Linked DNA regions of Homo sapiens: region 2 is linked to region 1. The links are contacts of gene promoters, found by promoter capture Hi-C in human tissues and cell types (Jung and others, 2019). All regions are on one chromosome and are shown on one strand. Each heading gives the region's core, a stretch centred on a gene start or on the middle of the fragment in contact. The rest is flanking DNA. Distances are from core to core; before and after follow the strand shown.

Region 1 (3,574 bases), core at 399-2,898:
TCCCCCTACCCCTACCCCTACCCCTACCCCCACCCCTACCCCCACCCCCACCCCCGCCGTGGGCTCCCGAGAGGCCCAAGCCTCCCAGACGAGCACTGACCCCTGCTCCACGGCACCCGGTCCCATCGACCGCCCAAAGGCTGAGGAATGTGGGCACACGGCGAGGGACTGGCAGGTAGCTTCACCTGCGGCCCCAGTGCTGGATCCACTGGATGAAGCCAGCTGGGCTCCTGAGTCCAGTGGGGACTTGGAGAACCTTTATGTTTAGCTAAGGGATTGTAAATACACCAATGAGCACTCTGTATCTAGCTCAAGGTTTGTAAATGCACCAATCAGCACTCTGTGTCCAGCTCAGGGTTTGTGGATGCACCAATCGGCACTCTGTGTCTAGCTAATCTGGTGGGGACTTGGAGAATCTTTATGTATAGCTAAGGGATTGTGAATGCACCAATCGGCACTCTGTATCTAGCTCAAGGTTTGTAAATGCACCAATCAGCACTCTGTGTCTAGCTCAGGGTTTGTAAATATACCAATCAACACTCTGTGTCTAGCTAATCTAGTGGGGACTTGGAGAACTTTTGTGTCTAGCTCAGGGATTGTTAACGCACCAATCAGCACCCTGTCAAAACGGACCAATCAACTCTCTGTAAAACAGACCAATCGGCTCTCTGTAAAGTGGACCAATCAGCAGGATGTGGGTGGGGCCAGATAGGAGAATAAAAACAGGCTGCCCGAGCAAGCAGCGGCAACCCGTTGGGGTTGCCTTTCTGGACTGTGGGTGCTTTGTTCTTTGTAATAAATCTTGTTGCTTGCTAACCCTTTGGGTCCCTACTGTCTTTGTGAGCTATAACACTCGCCGTGAAGATCTGTATTTGCAGCTCTTTCTTGAGGCCCGTGTGACCACGAACCCACCGAGAGCGAAGGAACAACTCCAGGTGTGCCCTCTTAAGAGATTTAACACTCATTGCGAAGATCTGCAGCTTCACTCCTGAAGCTAGCGAGACCATGAACCCGCCAGAAGGAAGAAACTCCAGACACGCAGTCTTTAAGAATTGTAACACCGCGATGGTCCGCGGTTTCATTCTTGAAGTCAGTGAGACCAAGAATCCACCATTTCCGGACACAATATGATATCAGGTTGGAATTTGATATTTTAGTTCTACAAAGATTCTGTTGTGTCAGTCCCCGTTGGGCCTAAACTCCGCAAGGGATGGGATATAATATCAGTGCATGTCCAACCGCCCCGCTCCACTCCCGCTTCCTGTAATGGCCATAACTAGTTTTTAAGGTTTCCTTCGGCAGAGAGGGAGGTCCATTCAGTCGGGTGCGGGCCTTAGAATTTTTTTGCTTCACACACCCCAGTTTCGCAATGTCCAGCCCTTGACAACCAACAGAGCACCTGTAGGAGCCCTGTGAAGTTGGTAAAGGGTTGGGGTTGTAATAGCTGTCCAGCAGACGGGGAGACAGGGGTTCAGAGAAGGTGGGCAACCACCACAGCAGGACGCAGCTCCCTACCGCCAGGGCTGGGAGTAGAAGCCGCAGCCTCCGCTCCGGCTCGGCCCCACGAGCACCCTGCAGGTGAAAAACTACAATTTCCAGAATGCCATTCGGAGCGGAGTTACGAAGCGGAAGCGAGGCCGGGGGCGGGGGGGATCCGATGCGCGCCGCTGCCGCTGCGTGGGGGTGAGGGGATCAGGTACGCTGTCCGCTGGTTAAGGGGGCTGGCTGGGGGCTGCGGGGTCTGTCCTGGGACGTCCGCCTCCCTCGCGGGTGGGGCGGACGTTGAGAAAGCAGCGTTTAGCAGTCATGTGGCCTGTGGTACTCCACCTTCCTGATACTTTCCCTTCCTGCTTCCACTCGCACGCTCAGCCTGTGGGCCGGGAGAGACCCGCAGGCGGGGTGCTCTCAGGCTGAATTCGATGTGCCATCACTTAGCGGCAGTGTAGGTACCCATCAGGTGGGAGTTAGGCTAGCAAAGGTCTGAGGCCTCTGCCAACCTAGGGTGGGGGTGCGGAGTGGAGGATTTATGAACTCAGCAAGTATTTATTAAGCATCTATAAGCAAACAACACTTGCCTACATTGAAGGGATGGAGGAGGTTCCGACAACAAGTAAAATAGGTTATGTTGGATAGTAATATGAATGAGGAGAGGAAGGTAGTCTGTGAGTGTCTTAGGGAAGAGCATTGAGGGTAAAGAGAACGGCGAATGTAAAGGCCTTGAAGGGTATGTTTGAGGAACAGCAAATAGACCCCGGAGTGCAGAGGAAACGAGAAAGGTAGACCTTAGTGATCTGCATAGGTCATTGTATGGATTTGGGCTATTTACTGTCAGTGAAATGGAGAGTACTGCAGGGTTCTAAGCAGAAGAGTGGTGATCATCAAATACTTAGGATGCTCACAGGGCTCGGGTACTGAGGGTGTACAGGTGAATTCTTCCAATTCTTCCCTGGGTTTATAATCTAGTGGGGAAACAGGTAGACAGCTGTCATGCAAGGCAGGGTCAGATAATTGGAGCCCCATGAAAGCAGAACGAATGTCATCCCCAAGTCCCCAGGATGTACTATTATGTCAGGTGCTTAGTAGCTTTGTTGAACGAAAGTAATGAATATTCAGCATCGGACCCATAATTGGAGGCTCAGAAAAGATGTTTAATGAAGAAATGAAAAATAAATGAAATCTCACTTCTTGATACTGTTACAATGGCAATTAAGTTTCAACCTGAATGTGAGAAGGGGACAAACATTCAAACCAGAGCAGCACTCAAATTCATAAGATAGGAAATACAAAGGTGCTGCCAGGATTGGGGAAGGGAGAGTTATATAAAGGTCACAGGGTCGGGTGTGGTGGCTCACGCCTGTAATCCTAGCACTTTGGGAGGCCCAGACAGGTGGGTCGCGAGGTCAGGAGATCGAGACCATCCTGGCTAAAATGGTGAAACTCCGTCTCTACTAAAAATACAAAAAAATCTAGCCGGACATGGTGGCGGGTGCCTGTAGTCCCAGCTACTCAGGAAGCTGAGGCAGGAGAATGCGTGAACCTGGGAGGCAAAGCTTGCAGTGAGTCGAGATCGCGCCACTGCACTCCAGCCTGGGCGACAGAGTAAGACTCCGTCTTTTTTTTTTTTTTTTTTTTTAAAGTTAGTTTCACTTTAGGAAGACAAACAAGCTCTGGAGCTGGACAGTGGTGATGGTGGCACACAATGTGGATGCCCTTAGGTGTGTTTTTAACTGCACATTTACAAATGGTTAAAATGGTAGTTCCTATGTCCAAAAAAAAATGCTAAATTTGGGCATAGATAATGTCCCACACAGATTGAGCAGATCTCTGCTTCTGTGATGTCCAACTTCACCTTTGCTTTCTGAGGATCCCTAGGTGGCAATCACCTAATCAGTATTTATTGAGCTTCCATTCTGTGCCAGGCCTTATGCCAGACAACAGAGATACAAAGATACAAAAGAGGTGGGCCCCGCCTTCAGGAGTGTTAGCTTGTTCTATTACTCTTCTGATGGTGGTTGGAGTTGTTTTTATTTGATTTGCAAGGTTATTGCATCCCAAATTCCTGGTTTAAGAAACA
Region 2 (3,574 bases), core at 699-3,198, 40 kb after region 1:
ACAAAAAACAGAAGAGGAGGGAACACATCCCAATTCATTTGATGAGGCTAGTATTACCCTGATATCAAAACTAAAGACATCACAGGAAAAGGAAACTATCCTTTTCCTTTATGAATCAATATCCTTTATGAATACAGACACAGAAATCTTCAACAAAACACTAGCAAACTGAATCCAGCAACATATAGAAAGGACTGTATACTGTGACCAAGTGGAATTAATCCCAAGTATGCAAGGTCTTTTAACATCTGAAATCAATTAATGTATTATGCCATCTCAATAGATGCAGAAAAAGCGTTCGAGAATGTCTAACACCCTGTCGTGATTTAAAAACAAAAACAAAACCAAACCTCAATAAATAAGATTAGAAAAGAACCTCCTCCATTTGATAAAAGGCATCTATGAAAAACCCACAGATAACACTTAATAGTGAAAGACTGAAAGCTTTGCACTTAAGATCGGGAATAAGACAAGGAAGTCTGCTCTTGCCATTTCCATTCAACATTATACTGGGGGTTCTGTCCAGGGTAATTTGGTAAGTAAAAGCAATAAAAGATATCTAGATAGGAAAGGAAAAATTAAAACCATCTATATTTGCACGTGATGTGATCTGGTATATAGAAAATCCTAAGGCACCCACCCACCCACACAAACACACACACACACACAAAACCATTAGAACTAACACTAACAAGTTCAGCAAGTTTATAGGATATACAAAAATTAATTATATTTCTGTACCCTTGAAATGAACAACCCAAAAATAAAACTTCAAAAATAATTCCACTATATAGCATCAAAGAAAAGAAAATATTTGGGAATTAATTCAACAAAAGAAATGTCAAACTTTTTTTTTTTTTTTTTAATTTGTAGAGATGGGAGTCTCACTATGTTGCTCAGCCTGATTTTGAACTTCTGGGCTCAAGCAATCCTCACATTCAGCCTCCCAAAGTGTTGGGATTGCAGGCATGAGCCATTGTGCCCGGTCAGAAATGTCAAACTTAAACTCTGAAAACTACAAAATATTATTAAAGGAAATTAACAAAGATCTAAATAATTGAAAAGGCACCCCATCCCATTTTCATGGTTCAGATGATTTAATATTATTAATAGGAGGTCATGGGAGGATGACTGCTTGAGCCCAGGAGTTCCTGACCACCCTAGGCAACAAAGTGAGACCATATCTCCACAAATAACAATAATTTAAAAAAAAATTGCTAAGATAACACTATTCCCAAAATTGAAATACAGATTCAATCCAATTTTTCTCAAAATCCCAACTGCCTTCATTGCAAAAAATGACAAATTGCTCCTAAAGTTTGTATGGAAATTCAAGAGACTCAGAATAGCCAAAATAATCTTGAAGAAGAACAAAGTTCTTCTTTTGTGAGAACAAAATAACTTATATTTCTGATTGCAAAACTTACTACAAGGCTACAGTAATCAAGACAATGTTGTATAGGTATAAGGATAGATATAGATTAATGGAATAGAATTAAGATACAGAAATAAAACTTCATCTTCAGCTAAAAGTTGAGAGATGGGAAAAAATATTTTTTTAAAACCCTTTATGCTTACAATCAGCTGATTTTTTACACAGGTGCCAAGACAATTCAATGGGGAAAGAATAATGTTTTCAATACATGGTGTAAGCACAACTGGATATACACATGCAAAAGAATGAAGTTGGATCCCTATCTTAAACTATATAAAAACATTAAATGATTGAAAGGCCTAAATCTCAGAACTAAAATTATAAAACTCTTAGAAGAAAATGCAGAGGCAAATCTTTGTGACCTTGGATTTGACAGTGGTTTCTTAGATATTATACCACCAGAAGCACATTCAGGAAAAAATTGAAAAATCTGACTTTATCAAAATTAGAACAGATAACTCACTGAATAGGAGAAAATATTTAAAAATTATATGTCTGATAAGGGACATGTATCTAGAATATATAAAGAACTTTACTACTCAATAATAAAAAGATAGATGACCCAATTTAAAGGTGGGCCAAGGATCCAAACAGACATTTATTCAAAGAAGATATATGAACAACCAAGAAGCATATGAAAAGATACTCAGTATCATTAGTCATCTGGGAAATTCAAATTAAATCACAATGAGATATCACTTCACCTCCACTAGGATGGCTACAATCAAAAAGACATTATAACCAGTGTTGTGGATATAGAAATTTCAGAACACTCATCTTGCTGGTAGAATTATAAAATGGTACAGCCACTTTGAAAACTGAAAAACAGTTTTGCAGCTTCTTAAAAAGTTAAACATAAAGTTACCATATAACATAGCTATTCCAGCCAGGGGTGTGGTGGCTTATGCCTGTAATCCCAGCACTGTAGAAGCCTGGGCAGGATGATCACTTGAGCCCAAGAGTTTGAGATCAGCCTGAGTAACAGAGACCCCATCTCTGAAAAGAGAAGGGACGGGAGGGGAAGGGAGGGGAAGAGAGGGGAATGGAAGGGGGGGAGGGAGGAGGAAAGAGAGGGGAGGGGAGGGAAGGGAAGGGAGAAAGAAAGAAAGGCAGGCAGACAATTCTACTTCTAGGATATACCCAAGAAAATTGAAAGCTTATGTTTACACAAAAACTTAGACATGAATGTTCATAGCATAATGATTAATAATAGCCAAAAGTATAAGTAATGCAAATGTCCAGCAACTGATAAGTGAATAAACAAAGCATGGTATATCATACAATAGAATATTATTTAAACCTAAAAGGGACTAAATGTGCTACAATGTAAAATTAATCTAGAAAATATTACGCTAAGTAAAAGGCCACATATTGTATTATTCCATTTACATGAAATGCCTTCAAACCATGGAGATAGAAAGTTGATATTTAGTTGCCAGAGGCTGGAGAGACGGGTCAGTGAGAGTCATTGTTTCACGGGTACAGAGTTTCAGTCTGGGAAGATGAAAAAGTTCTGGATATGGATGGTGGTGATGGATGCACAACAATGTGAATGTACCTAATATCACTGAACTGTATATCTAAAAATGATTAAAATGGTCAATTTTATGTTTATATATATTTTACCACAATAAAGAATTATTTTCACAGAAAAAGGAGAGAGAGAGAGAGATGAATTGAATGTGGCAAAATCCTAATAATGGAATCTAGATGATGGGCATATAGTTATTTTTTTAAATACTCTTCTCTCTAATTTTGTTTGAAAATTTTTCATAACTAAAAACATAATATGGAGACAGGCAAAATAGGTGTCTTCTTGATGACAATTCAGCCTGATGGGGCAAATATATGGAAAAACTTGTTGCAAAACAAATAACAAACACAGCTTTGACCATGCCTTTCTCCTGCCTGAAAGCCCTCTGAGAGCATCGTATCACCTACAGGGAAAAAAGACTCTCTGTGACCCTCTCCTCTGCTCACCTTGCCACCTCATCCTGCTTCTCCCTGACTTCCATTTCTTGAGCAACACCAAATCCCTTGTAAATTTCCCAAACATGCCCTGATCTGTGCCATTCTTCATGCCATGTATGCACCCTGCTTAACAATCCAGTCTCCCTCCCTCTGCTTAACCTCTCCTTA

Evidence for each region. Contacts are between HindIII fragments. The study calls those that stand out against the background at their distance.
Region 2: a fragment that was not itself captured here is called in contact with the fragment with the promoter of TRMT10B in region 1 in 2 of the 25 tissues and cell types used here (H1 embryonic stem cells and psoas muscle).

What each region holds. Positions count from the first base shown.
Region 1 is chr9:37,752,157-37,755,730 of GRCh38, forward strand. It overlaps TRMT10B (tRNA methyltransferase 10B), which reads left to right and starts at 1,649. Exons shown (of 9, transcript NM_144964.4): 1 at 1,649-1,696. RefSeq lists a silencer at 1,559-1,793. The HindIII fragment of the contact is 14,807 bases long and covers 1-3,574 here.
Region 2 is chr9:37,791,858-37,795,431 of GRCh38, forward strand. The region is part of intron 2 of LOC105376037 (a long non-coding RNA gene); the gene reads right to left. Among named protein-coding and RNA genes, the nearest start is that of DCAF10, 7.2 kb to the right of the region's middle. The HindIII fragment of the contact is 4,652 bases long and covers 1-3,574 here.